Linked DNA regions of Homo sapiens: region 1 is linked to region 2. Evidence: promoter capture Hi-C in 16 types of primary human blood cells and fetal thymus (Javierre and others, 2016). All regions are on one chromosome and are shown on one strand. Each heading gives the region's core, a stretch centred on a gene start or on the middle of the fragment in contact. The rest is flanking DNA. Distances are from core to core; before and after follow the strand shown. Region 1 overlaps DIAPH1 (diaphanous related formin 1). Region 2 holds the start of PCDHGA12 (protocadherin gamma subfamily A, 12).

The links. The method cuts DNA at HindIII sites, captures the fragments that hold promoters and counts their contacts. A CHiCAGO score of 5 or more calls a contact.
Region 1: a contact is called between a fragment that was not itself captured here and the fragment with the promoter of PCDHGA12 in region 2, in 1 of 17 cell types (M1 macrophages). The highest score is 5.1, in M1 macrophages.

Annotation. Positions count from the first base shown.
Region 1 is chr5:141,532,318-141,536,160 of GRCh38, forward strand. DIAPH1 (diaphanous related formin 1) reads right to left here. Exons shown (of 28, transcript NM_005219.5): 19 at 2,018-2,116. Among named protein-coding and RNA genes, the nearest start is that of DIAPH1-AS1, 24 kb to the right of the region's middle. The HindIII fragment of the contact is 6,140 bases long and covers 1-3,843 here.
Region 2 is chr5:141,429,257-141,433,275 of GRCh38, forward strand. PCDHGA12 (protocadherin gamma subfamily A, 12) reads left to right here and starts at 1,251. Exons shown (of 4, transcript NM_003735.3): 1 at 1,251-3,927. The coding sequence starts at 1,504. All of the region lies in intron 1 of PCDHGA1 (protocadherin gamma subfamily A, 1), which reads left to right. All of the region lies in intron 1 of PCDHGA2 (protocadherin gamma subfamily A, 2), which reads left to right. The region is part of intron 1 of PCDHGA3 (protocadherin gamma subfamily A, 3); the gene reads left to right. It also overlaps PCDHGB1, PCDHGA4, PCDHGB2, PCDHGA5, PCDHGB3 and PCDHGA6, and 10 more genes. RefSeq lists an enhancer at 1,147-1,286. The HindIII fragment of the contact is 4,636 bases long and covers 267-4,019 here.

The DNA of each region.
Region 1 (3,843 bases), core at 337-2,836, 100 kb after region 2:
CGCCACTGTGCTCAGCTAGTATTTTATGTTTTGTAGAGACAGGGGTCTTGCTTTGTTTCCCAGGCTGGTCTTGAACTCTTGGTCTCAAGCAATCTTCCCACCTCAGCTTCCTGCTGGGATTACAGGAATGTGCCACCATGCCCAGCCTCCTTAATTCCTTAATTGGTCTTTCAACTCAGTTTAAGTAGTACCTCCTTTAGAATATCTTCTGGGATTTGCCCCTCCAACACTGCCCCCACTTGATTTAGATCCCTCCCTTCCTAGTACTCTCATAAACATTCTAGCATACCTCCATCATAGCATTTATTAATCTGCACTGTTATCATCTGCCTTTCTGTCTTTACCAAATACGTGGCTCATGCAGACAGGGACTATTGTCTTATTCAGCTTTGTATCATTAGCACATGAGAGACATTTAATCACTAAATTCCATCTTCCAGACCATCCTATCCTATACTACTCTCAATTTTCTTTTCTTAAATTCTGTTTTCCATATCAATATCATAACACTAGAAATCATAATGTACTACACCATTGTCTTTCTTGTATCATTTTTTAAACCAATTACTCATGTCTTATGTTCCTAGAGATACTCTTGGGAAGAGGAACTGACTCACAATACTTTAATCTCCATAAGACTTCACCACAGACACTATGTAGTAATAGTTATTGACAATAATTTAAGATTATATAATCAAGAATAATGTGACAGTTTACTGGTCTCATTGTATCACTGACTTTACTTATGGGTATGTGTACTTATTGGCTGTGTGATCTGGGCACTTCGCATCATTTAAACTTTGGTTTTCTCATTTGGATAAACAGGGACAATAACTGCATCACAAGACTATGAGTGGGTTTTACGGAAAATACCCTTTCATCTCTGGAACACATGCCTAATAGAGCCTATAACATAGCAGACCCTGAAATATTTGTCAAATAAATATTTAAGTCTATATTTCTTGGTATGAAGTAGGTAGATGAGTAATTAAAAAGAACAAAAATTTAACATTTGTCCTGATCATCAAATAAGTACTACCTATATCAACTTTGCAGAGGAATTTCTCATTTGAAATTTTGCTACCAAAGAGTTACGAGTATACGTGGAAACTTCAGAACAGAACCCTTCTCTGGAGTTACTGATCCTACTCTGAGAAGTACAAAATTTACCTTAGTTATTTTAAATCACAAAGTAATTTTAAATTTAATTGAAGCCAAGCTAGTACCTTTACTTATCAGAAAGTGAAAGCTGGGCATGGTAGCTTACATCTGTAATCCCAACATATTGTGAGGCTGAGGTGGGCAGATCACTTGAGGCCAGGAGCTTAAGACCAGCCTGGGCAACATAGCGAGACCCCTTCTCTATTTATTTAATAAAAAAGCAAAAGTGGGAGCAAGGAAATGTCCAGTGGCTAGACCATCTGTGGTAGACTTTCTGTGAACGCAATGGACATAGTAAGAACTTTTAAATAAGAAAGTCAGAGACACAGCTGGGCAGATCACCTGAGCCCAGGAGTTTGAGACCAGCCTGAGCAACATGGCAAAACCCCATCTCTACAAAAAATTAGCTGAGCATGGTGGTGCACACCTGTAGTCTCAGCTACTTGGGAGGCTGGGGTGGAAGAATCAACTGAGCCCAGGAAGCTGAGGTGGCAGTGAGCTGTGATCGCATTATTACACCCCAGCATGGGCAACAGAGTGGTGAGACTGTGTCTCAAAAAAAAAAAAAAAAAAAAAAAAGGCTCAAATCCCAGACCTCCTTCTTACTAGCTTTATGTCTAAGCAAATTCCTAAAAGTCTTAGCTTGTTTCCTTGACATAAAACTGGATACTTAAAAATCTTGCAGTGCTATTGAAGAAATTAAACATGATACTGAAAATTCACTGTGCAATGGTTGGTATATAGCAGGAATTGAACAATTAAAGTTCCATATCAAGGGACCATAGATTCAAGAGAATTAAAAATTCTTAAAAGAATTCCTTCACATTTTGAATAGTTGGGACCAAGAGATACTCACAGAGATTCTGGGCTGTCTTTGAATCCAACACCTTTAACTCTTTTACTTTTTTCTTTTGCACAGATTTCTTTTCTTCTCCACCTTCTTGATCCTTCTTGGCTAGCAGGGAAAAGATTAGAAAAGCATGATTAAAAGTAAGCCACCTCTGTGCTTTACCAAGCAACTACTGTCCAGCGTGAAATGGCCCCTCACTTCCTCTCTATTATAATGGTCTATTGTATTCCTTCAAAACTAACCTCCTCTTCAACCAACCACCCTTTTATTACTGAACCTCCCCCAACTCTAATAAATATCTCATTTTCATTTCTTCAATATTTATCAGTAATGCTTTCCTACCTACATCCTATCTACTTGCAGGGATCAGCAAGCTGCCTGTAAAGGACCAGATAGTAACTATTTTAGGCTTTGCAGGCCATATGGTCTCAATTATTCAACTCTGCCACTGTAGCATGAAAGCAGGCACAGACAATACATAAATGAATGGGCATGGTTGTGTTCCATTAAAACTTGATTCACAAGAACAGTTGGTTAGTAGTAGTTCAGCAGTCCCCTTCCACCATGTTATCCTTCCTTTTGTGCCTATTTAAAAATCCAACTTATCTTTCAAGCTCCATCTTTTTTGTTTGTTTTTTGAGACAGCATCTCACTGTGTCACCCAGGTTGGACTGCAGTGGCGCAATCATGGCTCACTTGCAGCCTTGACCTCTTGGGCTCAGATAATTCTCCCACTTCAGGGTCCCAAGGAGCTGGGACTACAGGTGCAGGCCACCACGCCCGGCTAATTTTTTTATTTTTTGTGGAGATGAGGTTTCACCATATTGCCCAGGCTGGCCTCAAACTCCTGGGATCAAGCAATCTGCCTGCCTCAGCCTCCCAAACTGCTAGGAGTACAGGCATGAGCCACTGTTGCCCTACCTTAAGCTCCATCTTGAACATGACTTTCTCTAAAAAAATTTTGTTTTCTCAACTGCCTATGATTGAGGTAAAATATACTTCTGCCTTCTGCATTCTTTTCAGACTATCCAAAGCCATCATATTCTTCCCTTCTCATGAAACGTTCCCTGATAAATGATACTCACTCTCTGCTTTGATAAACTTATTTTCATGGTATTTGTTATCTATATCTCATCCAACAATTAATTATTCAATGTTTTGTGACATTGCATACGTATTATCTTGATCTTTTTAAAGCCTCTGTTATTTAATAAGTGTGGATATTTCTCATCCCACCTAGATTTTGAACTTCAAGGGCATGGGCAAAACAGTATTTCATTGTATCACTCCCTTAATGGCTCTCATGATAGTAACATTCTCTAAAAAATGGTTGATGCTGGCTATCCAAGGAGGGTTGAGCAATACATAGGAAAAAACCAAGTAACTATTCTGGACAGATATAATTGTAAAATACTTTGTACTATAGTGTAACTTGGTATCAAATTTTCAGAAAGTCATATGGGAATATCCCCGAAAGGAGAGTCGAGAAGCTGACAAAGCTAGCTGCCTCTGAGCAGAGGAATGGGGTGTTTGAACACGACAGTGGGAGGAATACTTTTGAACACAACCTTTTTATACCATTTGAATTTTAAACCACATGAAAAGTATTACCTGGTACAAATAAACAAGAATTAAAACAAAAAAGTTACATACAAAAGGTACAAAGAACTATAAAACACATTCACTCTTGGCTGGGCACAGTGGCTCACACCTGTAATCCCAGCACTTTGGAAGGCTGAGGTGGGCAGATCACTTGAGCTCAGGAGTTTGAGACCAACCTGACCAACATGGCAAAACCCTGTCTCTATAAAAAAAGTTCAAAAATTAGCCGG
Region 2 (4,019 bases), core at 1-2,500:
GGAATAAATTTTTTTCCTGTGATGTTTCTTGGGACATCAATATTTGAGTATATAAGGCTTTTTCTTTAATCCATTAACTATAAATTTTGAAGAAAATGCATGAGAAAATGGAGAAAATGTGTTTTTTTTTTAAAAAAAATTGAGATTAAGGTCTCATTATGTTGCCCAGGCTGGACTCAAACTCTTGGGCTACAGTAATCCTCCCACCTCAATCTCCAGAGTAGCTGAGACTACAGTTGCCTGAAACTGTGCCTGGCAGAGAAAAAAGCTTAAAAAAATAAGAACATGGTAATGATTTGATAATATTCAGTTACATTTACTTTTGATTCTTGTAATTCAAGTAAACTCAATTTTATGTCTGATATTTTCTCACAGCTACCTATATATTTCTTCCCAATTTAAAATATATTATTTTATTTTATGCCTAGCAAATATCTTTACAGTATAAATATTTACGCTCATGAAAGTACGTAGCCAGTTATTTCTTAGGGAGAATTTTTTCCCTATATTTTGATGGGCTTCCAAAAGTATTACCAGTAATTCTCAGTAATTACAATTAGGTCAGTTACCCAGGAAAAGGTAAGTCTGTAACATTCTTTGGACTACCAATTTTCTTTTACTAAGTTTCCTGAACAATAAATATTTTTGAAATATAATGTATTAATAGAATTCTGGAGTACTTCCATTATTTCCAGTCAATGCAAGTTGGAATGCTTCTACTTTATGCTAAAAATATTAATGTTTCTTTTTCACTTGGGTTCTTGTTAAGTGTGATTCTGATAATGTATACAATCACATATCATTTTTAGGTTTCCATAATATCATGAAAATTTGATTTTTAAGCGTTACATGTCAACAACCTGGTAAAGTAATCCTTCCATTCAGGATCATTCAAGGAATCTATTTAAAAATATTTTCCCCAAATTATAGCTGAATCAGAAAGTTTAAATTATTATATTATATGATTTGTCAAAAAGAGAAACTCCTAGGGAGACATCTCCATAATAGGTGTGTTGGGGGAACAGTAATCTCAAAGCAGATGCACTAACATTATAAGATTAAAATCATTGTTTATAGAAACTTCCAATTCATTTAAAAGCTCATTGGGGAAAAAAAAGCTCATTGGGAAAAAAAAAAAAAGCTCACTAAAGTTTCTATTAAAGCGAATACGGTAGATTTCCATCCCCTTTTGAAGAACAGTAGGTGGAGCTATTTAAGATATAAAAACGAAATATCCTTTCTGGGAGTTCAAGATTGTGCAGTAATTGGTTAGGACTCTGAGCGCCGCTGTTCACCAATCGGGGAGAGAAAAGCGGAGATCCTGCTCGCCTTGCACGCGCCTGAAGCACAAAGCAGATAGCTAGGAATGAACCATCCCTGGGAGTATGTGGAAACAACGGAGGAGCTCTGACTTCCCAACTGTCCCATTCTATGGGCGAAGGAACTGCTCCTGACTTCAGTGGTTAAGGGCAGAATTGAAAATAATTCTGGAGGAAGATAAGAATGATTCCTGCGCGACTGCACCGGGACTACAAAGGGCTTGTCCTGCTGGGAATCCTCCTGGGGACTCTGTGGGAGACCGGATGCACCCAGATACGCTATTCAGTTCCGGAAGAGCTGGAGAAAGGCTCTAGGGTGGGCGACATCTCCAGGGACCTGGGGCTGGAGCCCCGGGAGCTCGCGGAGCGCGGAGTCCGCATCATCCCCAGAGGTAGGACGCAGCTTTTCGCCCTGAATCCGCGCAGCGGCAGCTTGGTCACGGCGGGCAGGATAGACCGGGAGGAGCTCTGTATGGGGGCCATCAAGTGTCAATTAAATCTAGACATTCTGATGGAGGATAAAGTGAAAATATATGGAGTAGAAGTAGAAGTAAGGGACATTAACGACAATGCGCCTTACTTTCGTGAAAGTGAATTAGAAATAAAAATTAGTGAAAATGCAGCCACTGAGATGCGGTTCCCTCTACCCCACGCCTGGGATCCGGATATCGGGAAGAACTCTCTGCAGAGCTACGAGCTCAGCCCGAACACTCACTTCTCCCTCATCGTGCAAAATGGAGCCGACGGTAGTAAGTACCCCGAATTGGTGCTGAAACGCGCCCTGGACCGCGAAGAAAAGGCTGCTCACCACCTGGTCCTTACGGCCTCCGACGGGGGCGACCCGGTGCGCACAGGCACCGCGCGCATCCGCGTGATGGTTCTGGATGCGAACGACAACGCACCAGCGTTTGCTCAGCCCGAGTACCGCGCGAGCGTTCCGGAGAATCTGGCCTTGGGCACGCAGCTGCTTGTAGTCAACGCTACCGACCCTGACGAAGGAGTCAATGCGGAAGTGAGGTATTCCTTCCGGTATGTGGACGACAAGGCGGCCCAAGTTTTCAAACTAGATTGTAATTCAGGGACAATATCAACAATAGGGGAGTTGGACCACGAGGAGTCAGGATTCTACCAGATGGAAGTGCAAGCAATGGATAATGCAGGATATTCTGCGCGAGCCAAAGTCCTGATCACTGTTCTGGACGTGAACGACAATGCCCCAGAAGTGGTCCTCACCTCTCTCGCCAGCTCGGTTCCCGAAAACTCTCCCAGAGGGACATTAATTGCCCTTTTAAATGTAAATGACCAAGATTCTGAGGAAAACGGACAGGTGATCTGTTTCATCCAAGGAAATCTGCCCTTTAAATTAGAAAAATCTTACGGAAATTACTATAGTTTAGTCACAGACATAGTCTTGGATAGGGAACAGGTTCCTAGCTACAACATCACAGTGACCGCCACTGACCGGGGAACCCCGCCCCTATCCACGGAAACTCATATCTCGCTGAACGTGGCAGACACCAACGACAACCCGCCGGTCTTCCCTCAGGCCTCCTATTCCGCTTATATCCCAGAGAACAATCCCAGAGGAGTTTCCCTCGTCTCTGTGACCGCCCACGACCCCGACTGTGAAGAGAACGCCCAGATCACTTATTCCCTGGCTGAGAACACCATCCAAGGGGCAAGCCTATCGTCCTACGTGTCCATCAACTCCGACACTGGGGTACTGTATGCGCTGAGCTCCTTCGACTACGAGCAGTTCCGAGACTTGCAAGTGAAAGTGATGGCGCGGGACAACGGGCACCCGCCCCTCAGCAGCAACGTGTCGTTGAGCCTGTTCGTGCTGGACCAGAACGACAATGCGCCCGAGATCCTGTACCCCGCCCTCCCCACGGACGGTTCCACTGGCGTGGAGCTGGCTCCCCGCTCCGCAGAGCCCGGCTACCTGGTGACCAAGGTGGTGGCGGTGGACAGAGACTCCGGCCAGAACGCCTGGCTGTCCTACCGTCTGCTCAAGGCCAGCGAGCCGGGACTCTTCTCGGTGGGTCTGCACACGGGCGAGGTGCGCACGGCGCGAGCCCTGCTGGACAGAGACGCGCTCAAGCAGAGCCTCGTAGTGGCCGTCCAGGACCACGGCCAGCCCCCTCTCTCCGCCACTGTCACGCTCACCGTGGCCGTGGCCGACAGCATCCCCCAAGTCCTGGCGGACCTCGGCAGCCTCGAGTCTCCAGCTAACTCTGAAACCTCAGACCTCACTCTGTACCTGGTGGTAGCGGTGGCCGCGGTCTCCTGCGTCTTCCTGGCCTTCGTCATCTTGCTGCTGGCGCTCAGGCTGCGGCGCTGGCACAAGTCACGCCTGCTGCAGGCTTCAGGAGGCGGCTTGACAGGAGCGCCGGCGTCGCACTTTGTGGGCGTGGACGGGGTGCAGGCTTTCCTGCAGACCTATTCCCACGAGGTTTCCCTCACCACGGACTCGCGGAAGAGTCACCTGATCTTCCCCCAGCCCAACTATGCAGACATGCTCGTCAGCCAGGAGAGCTTTGAAAAAAGCGAGCCCCTTTTGCTGTCAGGTGATTCGGTATTTTCTAAAGACAGTCATGGGTTAATTGAGGTGAGTTTATATCAAATCTTCTTTCTTTTTTTTTTTTAATTGCTCTGTCTCCCAAGCTGGAATGCAGCGGTACGATCATAGCTCACTGCAGC